2 separate regions of the Homo sapiens genome follow, and region 1 is linked to region 2. The links are contacts of gene promoters, found by promoter capture Hi-C in blood cells and fetal thymus (Javierre and others, 2016). All regions are on one chromosome and are shown on one strand. The core of a region is centred on a gene start or on the middle of the fragment in contact, and the rest is flanking DNA. Distances in the headings are between cores, read along the strand shown.

Region 1 (2,739 bases), core at 114-2,613, 110 kb before region 2:
GCCATCCTTTGCATCATACAGAAGGCTTTTTCAGCCTCATTTCCACAGTACCCTCGGCAGCATTTTCCTTCTGGAACCCTAGGGAAGGGAAGACAGGGAATACAGTGATGGAGGCCTAATCAATGACTTGACAGGCAAGTGTCAGAACAGGCTGGCTTTTCAGAGAATGGCCAACTGCCCCAAGCCTCCAAGGAGGATAGAACATGAGGCGGGTACCTCCAGGGTTCCTTGTGGACAGAAAAAACAATGACAACCTCTCCCGTCCATTGAATGTTTACTGTGTGCCAGACATCATGCTAAATGCTTCATGTGTCATCACTGAGGTGGTTATTATTAGCACCCCAATTTAACCAATGAGAAAATTGAGGCTCAGAGAGGAAAACTACCCTGCCAAAGTCATGCAGTGACAACCCAGGGAGGGAGGGTGGAAGGGCGGGGCAGAGGGAGTGGGACAGTCACAGTCTCTGGCTTAAGGAGGGGGTCAGGGATGCCTGGGTCCTCTCTCGTCCTTTCTGCTCATGCTGTAGCTGAACAGGCAAAGCAGAGGGAGTTGTTTGCAAAGCACCAAATGTGATAATATTCGAGAGGCCCTGCAAAACTCCAGGGTACTCACAGATAAAAAGCAGGATTTAACTTTTCAGGGTGGAAGCAAATATTTGCACCATTTATTTATTTATTTGTTTTGGTTTTGTTTTTTTGAGACTGGGTCTTGCTCTGTTGCCCAAGCTGGAGTGCAGTGGTGCAATCATGCATGGCTTATTGCAACCTCGACCTCCCAGGCTCAAGTGATTCTCCCACTTCAGCCTCCCTAGTAACTAGGACTACTGGTGCACACCACCAAGCCTGGCTAAATTTTTTTTTTTTTTTGAGACATAGTCTCACTCTGTGGCCCAAGCTGGAGTGCAGTGGCACAATCTCAGCTCGCTGCAACCTTCGCCTCCCAGGCACAAACAATTATCGTGCCTCAGCCTCCCCAGTAGCTGGGACTACAGGCGCGCACCACCGTGCCAAGCTAATTTTTTGTATTTTAGTAGAGACAGGGTTTCACCCTTGTTACCCAGGGTGATCTCAAAATCCTGAGCTCAGGCAATCCTCCCGCCTTGGCCTCCCAAAGTGCTGGGATTACAGGTGTGGGCCACCGCGCCCAGCCCTAATTTTTAAACATTTTTTGTAGGGGGGTGGGGCCTTGCTGTTACCCAGGCTGGTTTCAAACTCCTGTGCTCAAATGATCCTCCCATCTTAGCCTCCCAAAGCGCTGGGATTACAGGTGTGGGCCACCGTGCCCAGCCTCATTTGCACCTTTTGGAGAGAAGAAAGTTGAGGAGGAAGGAAAGGATTCTGCAGGTGGAGAGAAGGGTCTCTTCTTCCATGTAGGCTGGCCAAGATCAGGAACAAAGTCCCTTTTCCTTCTAAGTTGGGAAGTTGAGACCCAGGGCAGGGCAGGTTTTGCCCAGAGCTACACAGCCAGAAAGTGGCAGAAGCAGATGAGGACCTGGGTCTCCTGATGCCCTGTTTCCCCCAACACCAGTCCCCTCCACTGCTGCCTCTGGGACTGACAGAGAAAGGGAGGTCTATGGGCACAAAGTCAGCAAGCAGCTGCCATGAGCCCTGTGTGCAGGCAGCGCTGGCCCAGTGCTGGGGAGTTGCTGTCCCCTCTCCTCTAGGCCAGCCTGGTCTGTCTTTGTAAGCCTGGAGCAGCAGGAAGTGAGTAGGAGTAGTTACACCCCCACTGCACTTCGGTCTCTAAAAGTGTCCCATTTTCCCTAAAGGTGATAGGTAATATATGTTCATGGTGTCTATTAGGATTCTGATAAGATGGCAGAAAAATCAAGATCAAGAGAAGGTGAACAAATGGGAGATAGGTTTCGCTTTGCGTTTACTACCCCACCCCTGCCAAGCAATGCAGCAGGCCTGCCCAGTAGCTCCCAGTCTCACCCTCCTGACATTCAAATAGCACTTGCTCCCTAGTATGGATGTGACCTGTTCCCCAATCCCAGAACTTGATTTTGCCAGGAACTGAGATATGGAATCTTCACACTTGGATAGGCTGCTTGCAGGTGGAAGTGTGGGTGAGTTTTGCATCCCTGGATGTGCACAAGCTGGGGATGGTACAGATGTGGCATGCTGCAGGGGGGTGTTGCATGATGCGTGGGATGCTGGCTGCTCTCTCTTTGTCCCTCCAGACCCTGCTCCATGCCAGAGACAGCTCAGTCCCTTAACCTGCATCTTTCAGAAAATAGGACACTTTTGAAGACCAAAGTGCAGTGGAAGTATCACTACCCCTACTCCCTCCCTGCTGCTCCAGACTTGCAGAGACACACCAGGCTGACCTGGAGGAGAAGGGCCAGCAACTCCCCAGCACTGGGCCAGTGCTGTCTGCATACAGGGCTCATGGAAGCTGCTTGTTTGACTTTCATCTTCCTTGTCCTCCGGCTTTTGCTTGGGTTTGGCCAATAGGAGGCACCGCTGGGAGATGGGAAGGAGGTAGGAGAGAGCAGTGGAGCCATACATTTTCTAGTCCTCTCCCTGCCAGGCCACACTTTGGTGGGTGCAGTCTTTCTCCCCTGAAAAGCCACAGCTCTTATCAAGTGGACCTCTCACCCATCACCCTCTCTGGGCTCTGATCACTGCTTGGTCCCCTTGTCTTTCGGGTCTAGTGGCTGTAAGGGCTTCCCATGGTGCTAGTTCCCCGGATGCCCCACCTCCCCTTCTGGTTCCCTGCCCGCATAAATACCCCCA
Region 2 (2,746 bases), core at 59-2,558:
AGGGAAGTGACCTGTCCAGGGTCACACAGCAGACTGAGAACAGAATCTGGCCCCTCACTCCTCACCATTCAGTATGTGCTGGGCATTTGCTGCAGCTAGGGGCTCTGCTGGGCCCTGGGTTCACAGGCACGAGCAAGGTAGGCAGGCCCAGCAGTCACGACATTCACAGGAGGGAGGCAGGGATGAATACATAAATCTGCGAAGGAGCATGGAAGTTTCTAGTAGTGGTTCTCTGCTAAGACGTAAAACCCAGGGAGAGGTAGAGTGAGGAGGCTTTTCTGAGAAGGTGATGTTTCAGCTGAGATGCAGATGCCAGGAAGGAGCCAGCCATGGAAGAATGTAGGGGGAGAGCAGCTATGAGTGAGCAGAACCCCAGAGTGGAGGGAACTTGGTGTTTGGGGAAGAACAAAAAGGAGGCCGATGTGGCATCAGGAATGAGAGTGGGGTGGTCGGCAAGTGTGGGACCACGCCCTTAGGTTGCGTGGTTCTGCCCAGATGGTTGGGTGGGTGACTGCTGGATTCTGACCTCTGTTTTAAGAAGTTAATTCTGGCTTCTGGGAGGGACTGCCCATGGGCAGGGAGGAAGAGGGCAATGAAACCAGGAGGTGACTGCAGGGTCGCAGGCGAGAGGAGATGGTGCTGGCCTAGCCTGGGAGCTTGGGGCTGGGGAGAGGTCCATGGGGCTGGAGGTTGGAGCTGGTGAGAAGGGGGTTGAGGGAACGAGAGAGATCAGGGATGCATCTTAGACTTTTGGTTTCAGGAACTAAGGATTTGGCGGTGTCACTTCTGAGGTGGAGGTTTTGGCGGGTGACCATCAAGCCTCCCGTTTTTGGACCAGTTGGGTTCAAGATGCCCATTTAACATCCAAGGAGAGGTACCGAGGAGGCCGTGGGATACCTGGTGATTGGAGCTTGGGGTTCAAGGAGCAGTTGGGCAAGAAACAGAGAGAGAGAGCGAGTCAAGACTTCTCAGGAAGTAGCCACGGACATTGCCCGGGACTCTCGGGCAAGGCTCCTCAATACACAGGGCTGGCGGTGGCTTCCCAGGAAGGCTGGGAGGAAGAGGAGTTCATGGGAAGGCAGCAGGGACCCCCAGATGGAGGGGCAGGTGCCCATGCCCCGCCGGCTCCTCTCCCTCAGTTCAGAGCCTGTCCTGTCGGGGGGTGTCAGCGGCCCTGACTCTCCACTCCCCTACAGTCCCCCCAGAAGCTGAGTTGCAGCGGTGACAGAGAACAAGCGGACTTTGTTACCTTGGCAGTTTCTCTCAAGTCTGCTCCTCATAAAAGCTCAGCTGGAACAGTGGAAATTCTGACTTGTGTCAGATACCGGAGAGGCTTTAATAGTTTCAAGTAGCTCGGGGTTAGATTGTAAAAGCCGAATTTCATCACATGTTTTAACTTGGGTGGGGGCGGGCGGGGGAGAGTGGAAGGGACGTGATATTTTTAGCCCACAGAAGGCTTTTTCTCCCCTTTCCCCTTCTCTCCCGGGGCTTCCCCCTCCCTCCCTGAACAGATGTTTCGTCTCAATCCTGTTCAGATGTCAAAGCCGAGTGGCCACCAGCCTTATGCTCTGATGAGGAAAAAAAGGCCAGAATGTTATTTGTTGAGAAGGATTTCCTCCCCTACCCGCTTTTCCCCCTTTTTTGTTTCCCCTCAGTTACAATTGGTCCATAAGCAAAATCTAGTGGCAGTAAAATGCAGCTGGGAGGCAGGATGGTGGAGAAGAAGTCCCTGGTGGCATTTCTGGTCTCAGGAAGGGGCAGACACCCACAGGTGAAAAAGCTGGAAATCACCCTAGAGGGACTGCCCTGGGTGAGTGAATTACTGCTGTGGTGCTGGTGCTGGTGGTTTTTCCTAAAAAGCAGGATCTCAGAGAGACGGATTTGTTAAGTCAGGATTCTTTCGGTTCTTTTGGAAACTCACTTAAACTTTTGGCTCATGAAATTGAAAAATCCTAGGGTAGATCTTGCCTAAAAAGGCCTGTTTGGATTCTGGAGCTAAAACCATGTCATGGACACATGCACGCACACACACACACTCACACACACACGTATACTCACACATTCACACACATGTCTCGCTCGCTGCCCCTCTCTCTCCCTCTCCATCATCTCTCCCTCTGTCCCCTGGTGGCTTCTCCCCCACAGGGGGCAAGGGTGGCAGTTCCCAGCTCTGGGCACTCCCATCCTATGAGCACAGCCCTGTCAGGTGGAAGAAAGTTCCCAGGTCACAGGGGTTCTTGCACATGTTGGACTCACTTTATTGACCACTTTACTGGTCACTTGACCAGGGTAGATCTAGGTTTTATGGGACCTGAAGCTTTCTGGGGCCAAACCAAAATAAATATCTCACCAACTCAGTCTCTCCTTAGCTCATGTCCAGAAATGCCTGTATTTCCCCTAGTATCACCTCACACAGGCAAAGGATGTCAGAATGGTTAGATGACAATCTTAATAGATTGAGGATAAAATGCCTAATTTGGAAAATGTTACAAATACAAACACATATGACCACATAAACACCTTGCAAAGACCCATCCTGACTTGGAAAGGGCCCGTGTAGGTGAGAGGGCCCAGAAGCCTAGCTTCATTAGCTTCTTCATAAACTCTTCTTTCATACTGACCTAGGACCAGCCACGTGGCCTTCAGGATGAAACAAGCTGGGTCAGGTAGGGGTACTGAGTGCAGTGTGACCCTGGAGTGGGATCAGTCTCCATAAACTAGATAGACTGAGAGTGGGGGATGAGTA

What was found. Contacts are between HindIII fragments. The CHiCAGO score rates a contact against its expected background, and 5 or more counts as called.
Region 1: a fragment that was not itself captured here is called in contact with the fragment with the promoter of NKD1-AS1 in region 2 in 5 of 17 cell types (total CD8 T cells, non-activated CD4 T cells, naive CD8 T cells and 2 more); the score reaches 7.1 in total CD8 T cells.

The regions. Positions count from the first base shown.
Region 1 is chr16:50,499,892-50,502,630 of GRCh38, forward strand. No RefSeq gene overlaps it. Among named protein-coding and RNA genes, the nearest start is that of NKD1, 47 kb to the right of the region's middle. The HindIII fragment of the contact is 3,556 bases long and covers 1-2,739 here.
Region 2 is chr16:50,612,342-50,615,087 of GRCh38, forward strand. It overlaps NKD1-AS1 (NKD1 antisense RNA 1), which reads right to left and starts at 1,309. Exons shown (of 3, transcript XR_007065197.1): 1 at 1,250-1,309. All of the region lies in intron 4 of NKD1 (NKD inhibitor of Wnt signaling pathway 1), which reads left to right. The HindIII fragment of the contact is 2,641 bases long and covers 1-2,315 here.